Regions from separate parts of the Homo sapiens genome. Here regions 1 and 3 are each linked to region 2. The links are contacts of gene promoters, found by promoter capture Hi-C in human tissues and cell types (Jung and others, 2019). All regions are on one chromosome and are shown on one strand. The core of a region is centred on a gene start or on the middle of the fragment in contact, and the rest is flanking DNA. Distances in the headings are between cores, read along the strand shown. Region 1 has its middle 20 kb from the start of BTNL3. Region 2 holds the start of ZFP62 (ZFP62 zinc finger protein). Region 3 has its middle 11 kb from the start of BTNL9.

Region 1 (2,815 bases), core at 171-2,670, 150 kb before region 2:
TTTAAGGTTAATATTGTTATGTGTAAATTTGATCCGGTCATCATGACGCTTGCTGGTTATTTTGCACATTCCTTTATGCAGTTTTTTCATAGTGTCATTGGTCTTTATATTCTGGTGTGTTTTTGTGGTGGCTGGTACCAGTTGTTCCTTTCCATATTTAGTGCTTCCTTCAGGAGCTCTTGTAGGGCAGGATTGGTGGTGACAAAATCCCTCAGCATTTGCTTGTCTGTAAAGGACTATATTTCTCCCTCATTTATGAAGCTTAGTTTGGCTGGATATGGAATTCTGGGTTGAAAATTTTTTTAAGAATGTTGAATATTGGCCCTCACTCTCTTCTGGCTTCTAGGGTTTCTGCAGAGAGATCCACTGTTCATCTGATGGGCTTCCCTTTGTAGGTAACCTGACCCTTCTCTCTGGCTGACCTTAACATTTTTTCCTTCATTTCAACCTTGGTGAATCTGACGATTATGTGTCTTGGGGTTGCTCTTCTCGAGGAGTATCTTTGTGGCATTCTCTGTATTTCCTGAATTTGAATGTTGGCCTGTCTTGCTAGGTTGGGGAAGTTCTCCTGGGTAATATTCTGAAGTGTGTTTTCCAACTTGGTTCCATTCTCCCCATCACTTTCAGGGACCCTGATCAATCATAGGTTTGGTCTTTTCACATACTCCCATATTTCTTGGAGGCTTTGTTTGTTCCTTTTCATTCTTTTTCTCTAATCTTGTCTTCATGCCCTATTTCAGTAAGTTGTTCTTCAGTCTCTCACATCCTTTCTTCCTCTTGATCGATTCGGCTATTGATACTTGTGTATGCTTCACGAAGTTCTCGTGCTGTCTTTTTCAGCTCCATGAGGTCATTTATGTTCTCCTCTAAACTGGTTATCCTAGTTAGCCATTCCTATAACCTTGTCAACGTTCTTAGCTTCCTTGCATTTGGCTAGAACATGCTCCCTTACCTCAGAGGAGTTTGTTATTACCCATATGCTGAAGCCTACTTCTGTCAATTTGGCAATTCTTTCAAACTCATTTTCTGTCCAGTTTTGTGCCCTTACTAGACAGGAGTTATGATCATTTGGGGAAGAGGCATTCTGATTTTTGAAATTTCCAGCATTTTTAAGCTGGTTTTTCCTCATCTTTGTGGATTTATCTACCTTTGATCTTTGAGGCTGATGACCTGTGGTTGGGGTTTTTGTGTGGGGATCCTTTTGTTGATGTTGATGTTACTGCTTTCTGTTTGTTAGTTTTTCTTCTAACAGTCAGACCCCTTTTCTGCAGGTCTGCTGCAGTTTGCTGGAGGTCCACTCCAGACCCTATTTGCCTGGGTATAACCAGTGGAGGCTGCAGAACAGCAAAGATTGCTGCCTGCTCCTTCCTCTGGAAGCTTCATCTTAGAGGGGCACCAGCCTGATGCCAACCAGAGCTCTCCTGTATGAGGTGTCTGTCAACCCCTGTTGGGAGGTCTCTCCCCGTCAGGTGACACAGGGGTCAGGGACCCACTTGAGGAGGCAGTCTGTCCCTTAGCAGAGCTCGAGTGCTGTGCTGGGAGAGCCCTCCTTGTCAGCATCTGCTGCTCTCTGCAGAGCCAGCAGGCAGGAACGTTTAAGTCCACTGAAGCTGCACCCACAGCCGCCCCTTCCCCCAGGTGCTCTGTCCAAGGGAGTTGGGACTTTTATCTATAAGCCCCTGACTGGGACTGCTGCCTTTCTTTCAGAGATGCCCTGCCCAGTGAGGAGGAATCTAGAGAGGCAGTCTGGCCACAGCCTCTTTGCCGTGCTGTGTTGAGTTCCGCCCAGTCCGAACTTCCAGGCCTCCTTAGCACTGTCAGGGGAAAACCACCTATTCAAGCCCCAGTAATGACAGATGCCCCTCCCCCAACCAAGCTCCAGGTCAGCTCCAGACTACTGTGCTGGCAGCAGGAATTTCAAGCCAGTGGCTCTTAGCTTGCTGGGCTCCGTGGGAGTGGGACCCGCTGAGTGAGCCCACTTGGCTCCCTAGCTTCAGCCCCCTTTCCAGGGGGTGAACAGTTCTGTCTTGCTGTGGTTCCAGGCGCCACTAGGGTATAAAAAAACACTCCTGCAGCTGGCTCAGTGTCTGCCCAAACAGCCACCCAGTTTTGTGCTTGAAACCCAGGGCCCTGGTGGTGTAGTCACATGAGGGACTCTCCTGTTCTGTGGATTGCAAAAACCGTGGGAAACGCGTAGTGTCTGGGCCAGATAGCACAGTCCCTCACAGCTTCCCTTGGCTGGTGGAGGGAGGCCCCCCACTCCTTGCACTTCCTGGGTTGAGGCAACACCCCGCCCTGCTTCTGCCTGCCTTCCATGGGCTGCACCCACTGCCTAACCAGTCCCAATGAGATGAACAGGGTACCTCAGTTGGAAATGCAGAAATCCCCTGCCTTCTGCATTGGTCTCGCTGGCAGGCCAGAGCGTTCCTATTCAGACATCTTGCCAGATCCTTCCCATGTTTTTCTTTTCTTTTCTTTTCTTTTTTTTTTTTTTTTGAGACGGAGTCTCGCTCTGTTGCCCAGGTTGGAGTGCAGTGGCGCCATCTCGGCTCACTGCAAGCTCCGCCCCCTGGGTTCACGCCATTCTCCTGCCTCAGCCTCCCGAGTAGCTGGGACTACAGGTGTCCACCACCATGCCCAGCTAATTTTTTGTATTTTTAGTAGAGACGGGGTTTCATCATGTTAGCCAGGATGGTCTCAGTCTCCTGACCTTGTGATCCACCCACCTCGGCCTCCCAAAGTGCTGGGATTACAGGCGTGAGCCACCACGCCCAGCCCTCCAATGTTTTTCTTTATCATAAAATTAAATTTAAAA
Region 2 (2,700 bases), core at 1-2,500:
TGAAATATTTATATAATTTTGCTAATAATCCAGAAAATAACACTAAGAAAAAATGTAATCTACTTTCGTTACGGACATATATGCTAGGATAAACAATAAACAATAAAACAATGCATAGAACTATTTTACACTAGGATAAAATTCAATGAGGCACATAGAATGAAAATATTTTTACAGTAGAATAAAAAGCCGGTGAGGGACATAAAAGTTCAAGGAAAAAAACCCTAAAAGATGTAAAACTTATGACTGTTAAAAGTGGATAATACCAAATCTTCAGGGATTTAGATTCCATTGGATACACTTGAAAGCAATTTTGTTCTTAATATTAACAGCATGCCAAAAATATACCCTTTGCAATTATTTAAACTTAATATGAAAAATATTTAGATGTTGCTGTTTTTAAAAAAGGCTGACTATAGCCAATAACTTAGTTGTATATTTAAAAATAAGAATATAATTTGATTGCTTGTAACACAAAGGATAAATGCTTGAAGTGATGGACACGCCATTAACCCTGATATGATTATTACGCATTGCATTCCTGTCTGTATCAAGATATCTCACGTACTCGACAAATAGGGACACCTACTATGTACCCACAAACATTAATTTAAAAAAAAAAAAAAGGTCTTCAAAGTCATTTTAGGCCCTGGGTTTGGAAGCCGACACCGGCGGTGGGGTGGGCAGGGGGCGAGGTCGCTGCCAAGCTGGCGCCCCGGGTGGGAGCGTGGCCCGGTCCCAGGGACGGCTCCAGGGGCGCGCTCCCACTCCGCATCCCCAGTGCCTAACCGGGGGCGCTTCTGGTGCTGACGACCAGGAAGGGCTGGTGCTCTCGGGCCAGCCCCCAACCAGCTGAGAAGGCAATGGGTCCCCAGCCCAGCGCTGTCCTGCGCCCCTCCCGGATTCCCCCATTTCCCGCCAGGCCCCCACTTCCGGGAACGTCCCCGCACCCACACCTGGCAATGAATCACGTGTTCAGGAACCAGGTAGGCAGGTATTTACTTTATTACCTGTGCCCCTCCCCCAGCCTACCCCAGAAGCTAATGGGCACGGAAACAGAAAGCCCCGCCCACGGCCTCCTGGCCGCGCCTGGAGCGCGCGCCCTGCAGCTGGTCCTCAATAAATAGCCGAGGAGGCGCTCCCCTCCCTCCCTCCCGCCGGCGCCGTCGGCCCGGACCATCGAGTCAGTCCTCCAGCGTCCCAGAGAGGGCGCGGAAGTGCCCCAGGGCCGGCGCGGGTTCTTCCGGCCGTGCGGTCCGCGCTTTTGTCCCGCTGGCGGCCGGGTTCCCGCGGCGCCGCCACAGCCAGTACGTGAGTCCGCGGCCGCCCGCGCTCCCGCCCCCGGCCCTTGCCTGCCACGCCCTCCCCTTTTTGGCCGGGTCTTGGCTGCTCCGCGGGTCTCGGGCGGGATGTGGGAGTAAGCGTGCCCCCTCCCCGCACATGTCTCAGTGGGTGCGTTTCTGGGGAGCGGAGGGGAGGGAAGACCTCGGGCAGGCAGAGGGGTGCAGGGCGCGCCCCTGGAACAGACTGGGCTCTGTGTGGGCCACAACTGCGACGTTTGAACGGACCAGCGTCATGTTAGGTCTGCTCAACGTTCCGAGAAGGGCCAGGGCCCCGCTCCGGTGTTCCTCAACTATTCATCCCTGTTTTGGATGGGAGGGGATCCCTAAAAATTAGCGCTTCAAAATACCCACCATTTCGTGCTCCCTCTGCAGTTAAGTTTGGTACTCTAGGACTTGAGAGTGATTGCGAGGGCAGAGAGACCTCTAGGGGTGATCTGATTCGACCTTCTTCCCCTCCGCTCCACCCCACCACCTTTTTTTCTTTTTTTTTTTTGGTCGGTGAGTGATGATGATAAGCTCCCGCTGCAGGTGTGAATAGAGACCCCGGAGGTGCGTCCTAGCCCTCATCTGGGGAAGCGCACCTGCATACAGACGGGTGCACCGGGGAGGAGGCGACCTGCCGCGTGTTCCTGCAAGCAGAAAAGGAGTTAACTAGGTAGGGAGAGGAAGGTCGAAGAGTTTCTTAGACCCAGGGGACAGCCTGCGGGAACCCAGGGGTGGGACGGAAAAGATCACTGGGGAATGCCAGGGCTGGGTGTGCTGCTCTAAGACATTTAAAGTAGTTGGCCAGCAGGAGCATTTCTTTGTGAAAGCTCAAGGCTTAAAAAAAATAATAATATGAAATATGTAATATATTCATATGGCTGGGATATTAAAAATATAAAAAGTTACCAGTGAAAGATTTCTTCCCATCCCGCTTAGGTATCTTCCTAGGCCCTACCCTCTTAGGTAACCACTTTTGTTCCTTTGTATCTTTTCCGAATTTCTGCAAATACTGGCAAATATAACTAGTTAGTTCCCCCTTTTTTCACACAGGTGATAGAAATCCTTCTAACTCCTTGATTCTTTCACTTTATCTTACTGGTCTCTACATGTCAGAACACAGAAGTTGTGTTTTGTTTCGTTTTGTTTTACAGAGCTGTGGTAAGTATTGGATGGGCCATTGTTTGGATGTTTTCGATGTTCTGTCCTTTTTTAGATCTATTCGGGGGCATTTGGGTTGTCTCCAATTTGTTGTTACTTCAAACAATGGTATACTCAATACAGTGTATTAGGGTAGGGATTTTTACAGAAGAAACTAAACAGCCGTTAGAAAATTATTTTTTTACATTAACTCAACCAGTTATTGGCAGATTGT
Region 3 (2,700 bases), core at 201-2,700, 170 kb before region 2:
ATCTTTCATTTCTTTGAAAATAACCATTCAAACAGCTAGAAAGTGATATCTCATTGTTGTCTTAATTTGCATTTATTTGATGATTAACGAGGATTAGCATTTTTTCATGTACTTGGCCATTTGTATGTCTTCTTTTGAGAAACATTTATTCAAGTCCTTTCCCCACTTTTAAATTGGGTTATCCTATGCTTTTGAGGTCATACCCAAAGTATCATTTCCCAGACCAATGTTGTGGAGTTTTCCTCTATGTTTTCTTCTAGTAGTTTTATAGTTTCAGATCTTATAATTAAACTTTAACCCATTTGGAGTTAATTTTGATATATGATGTGAGACAGGGGTCTAATTATTATTATTATTATTATTTTGCATGTGGGTATTCAGATTTCCTAATAGCCTTTATTAAAGGGACTGGTTGTTTTTTTGATATGTGTTCTTGGCACCTTTGTCCAAAATAAATTGACCATAACATCATGGGTTTGTTTCTGGGCTCTCTATTCTGTTCCATTGGTCTACATGTCTATTTTTATGCCAGGACCATGATGAATTACCATCATTTTGTAATACAGTTTGAAATCAATTATTGGGATGCCTTCACCTTGGTTCTATTTGCTCAAGATTGCCTTGGGTTTTGTCTTTTGTGGTTCCATATACATTTTAGGATATTTTTTCTATTTCTGTGAAAAAAAGACATTTCACCCATGAAACCATTAGTCTTGGGCTTTTTTGTTTGTTTGTTTTTGGATGCAAGATTTTTTTTTATTACTGATTCAATTTCCTCACTCATTATTGGTCTACTCAGATTTTCTATTTTTTCATTATTCTGTCTTGGTTGTGTGTTCAGGAATTTATCCATTTCTTCTAGGTTATTCAATTTTTAGCATACAATTTTTTATAACACTCTGTCATGATTCTTTGTATTTCTGTGGTATCAATTGTAATGTCTCCCTTTTCATCCCTGATTTTATTTATTTTAGTCTTCTCTCTTTTTTTTGTATTTGTCTTGCCAAAGGTATGTTGATTTTGTTTATGTTTTCAAAAAACTAAGCCTTTGTTTCATTGACCTTTTGTATTTTTGGTCTCTATTTCACTTATTTCTGCTCTAATAGCAATTATTTCTTTTCTGCTGCTAATTTGGGATTTAGTTTGTTTTTATTTTTCTAGTTCCTTGTGGTGCATATTAGGTTGTTTATTTGTGGTCTTTCTTCTTTTTTTAATGTGGGTTTTTTGTTTGTTTGTTTGTTTGTTTGAGTCAGAGTCTCACTCTGTTGCCCAGGCCGGAGTGCAGTGGGGGGATCTTGGCTCACTGCAAGCTCCGCCTCCCAGGTTCAAGGGATTCTTGTGCCTCAGCCTCCCAAGTAGCTGGGATTACAGGCATGTGCCACCATGCCCAGCTAATTTTTGTATTTTTAGTAGAGATAGGGTTTTGCCGTGTTGGCTGGGCTGGTCTCAGACACCTGGCCCCAAGTGATCCATCTGCCTCTCTCTCCCAAACTGCTACAATTATAGGCGTGAGCCACCACACATGGCTAATATACGTGTTTGTTGCTATAAACTTCCCTCTTAGAACTGCTTAGAACTGCATCTCAAAGGTTTTCGTATGTTGTGTTTTCAATTTTACCTGTTTAAATTTTTTTTTAATTTTTTAATTGATCCATTGGTTGTTGAGGAGCATGCTATTTAATTTCTATGTATTTACAAAGTTTACAAATTTCCTCCTGATGTTGACTTCTAGTTTTATACCATTGTGGTTAGAAAATATACTTGAAATGATTTAGATCTTAAATTTGTTAAAGCTTTGTTTTGTGGCCTAACATATGATCTGTTCAGGAGAATGTTCCATGTGCTATTGAGACAGATGTGTATTCTGCAGCTTTTGAGTGTCATTTTTTTGTCTGTTTGTTTGAGACAGAATCTTGCTTTGTCGTCCATGGTGGAGTGCAGTGGTGCGATCTTGGCTCGCTGCAACCTCCATCTTTCAAGTTCAGGCGATTCTCGTGCCTCAGCCACTCAAGTAACTGGGATGACAGCAGTGCGCCACCATGCCCAACTGATTTTTGTATTTTTAGTAGAGACGGGGTTTCGCCATGTTGGCCAGGTTTGTCTCTAACTCCTGGGCTCTAATGATCCGCCTGCCTCAGCCTCCCAAAGTGCTGGGATTATAGGCATGCACCACCGCGCCCGGCCTTGAGCGGCACGTTCTGTAAATGTCTGATAGGTTCATTTAGTCTAGTGTGTGGTTTAAATCTGATGTTTCTTTGTTTGTATCCTGTCTGATGATCTGGCCATTGCTAAGAGCGTGATGCTGAAGTCTCCCGCTATTGAGACTGAAGGGAAGTGCTGGGAAGGGAAGAGCATGGTCCCTTTAAATGATACGGAAGGGGGAAGGGAAGCGCTGGGTAGAGGAGGGCGTGACTAGGGCTCCACCCCTAAGGATCTAGGTGTGGACAGGCGTTTCCTGCCCACATGTTGCGTTTCCCAAGACCACCCTGGCCTGCCACGCCCCCAACCTGTGCCTATAAACCTCCCAGACCCCAGCAGGCAGACACACAGGTGGGGTGGACGTCTGGAGAAACTGGCGCGGAAGGCCAGTGACCAGCAGAAGCACAGTGATGCAGAGTTTTGCTGGGGCAGTTGGAAATGAGCCCAGGACGCTGAGTGGCCTGACTCCAGGGGAAAACCTTCCCACTCCAAGTTGAGCTG

What was found. Contacts are between HindIII fragments. The study calls those that stand out against the background at their distance.
Region 1: a contact is called between a fragment that was not itself captured here and the fragment with the promoter of ZFP62 in region 2, in 2 of the 25 tissues and cell types used here (heart left ventricle and small bowel).
Region 3: a fragment that was not itself captured here is called in contact with the fragment with the promoter of ZFP62 in region 2 in 1 of the 25 tissues and cell types used here (pancreas).

The regions. Positions count from the first base shown.
Region 1 is chr5:181,007,380-181,010,194 of GRCh38, reverse strand. It overlaps the pseudogene RNU6-1036P. Among named protein-coding and RNA genes, the nearest start is that of BTNL3, 20 kb to the right of the region's middle. The HindIII fragment of the contact is 4,188 bases long and covers 1-2,815 here.
Region 2 is chr5:180,859,826-180,862,525 of GRCh38, reverse strand. It overlaps ZFP62 (ZFP62 zinc finger protein), which reads left to right and starts at 1,250. Exons shown (of 2, transcript NM_001172638.2): 1 at 1,250-1,307. The coding sequence starts at 1,307. RefSeq lists enhancers at 207-1,113, 1,591-1,670 and a silencer at 1,041-1,490. The HindIII fragment of the contact is 15,115 bases long and covers 1-2,700 here.
Region 3 is chr5:181,027,999-181,030,698 of GRCh38, reverse strand. No RefSeq gene overlaps it. Among named protein-coding and RNA genes, the nearest start is that of BTNL9, 11 kb to the left of the region's middle. The HindIII fragment of the contact is 8,395 bases long and covers 1-2,700 here.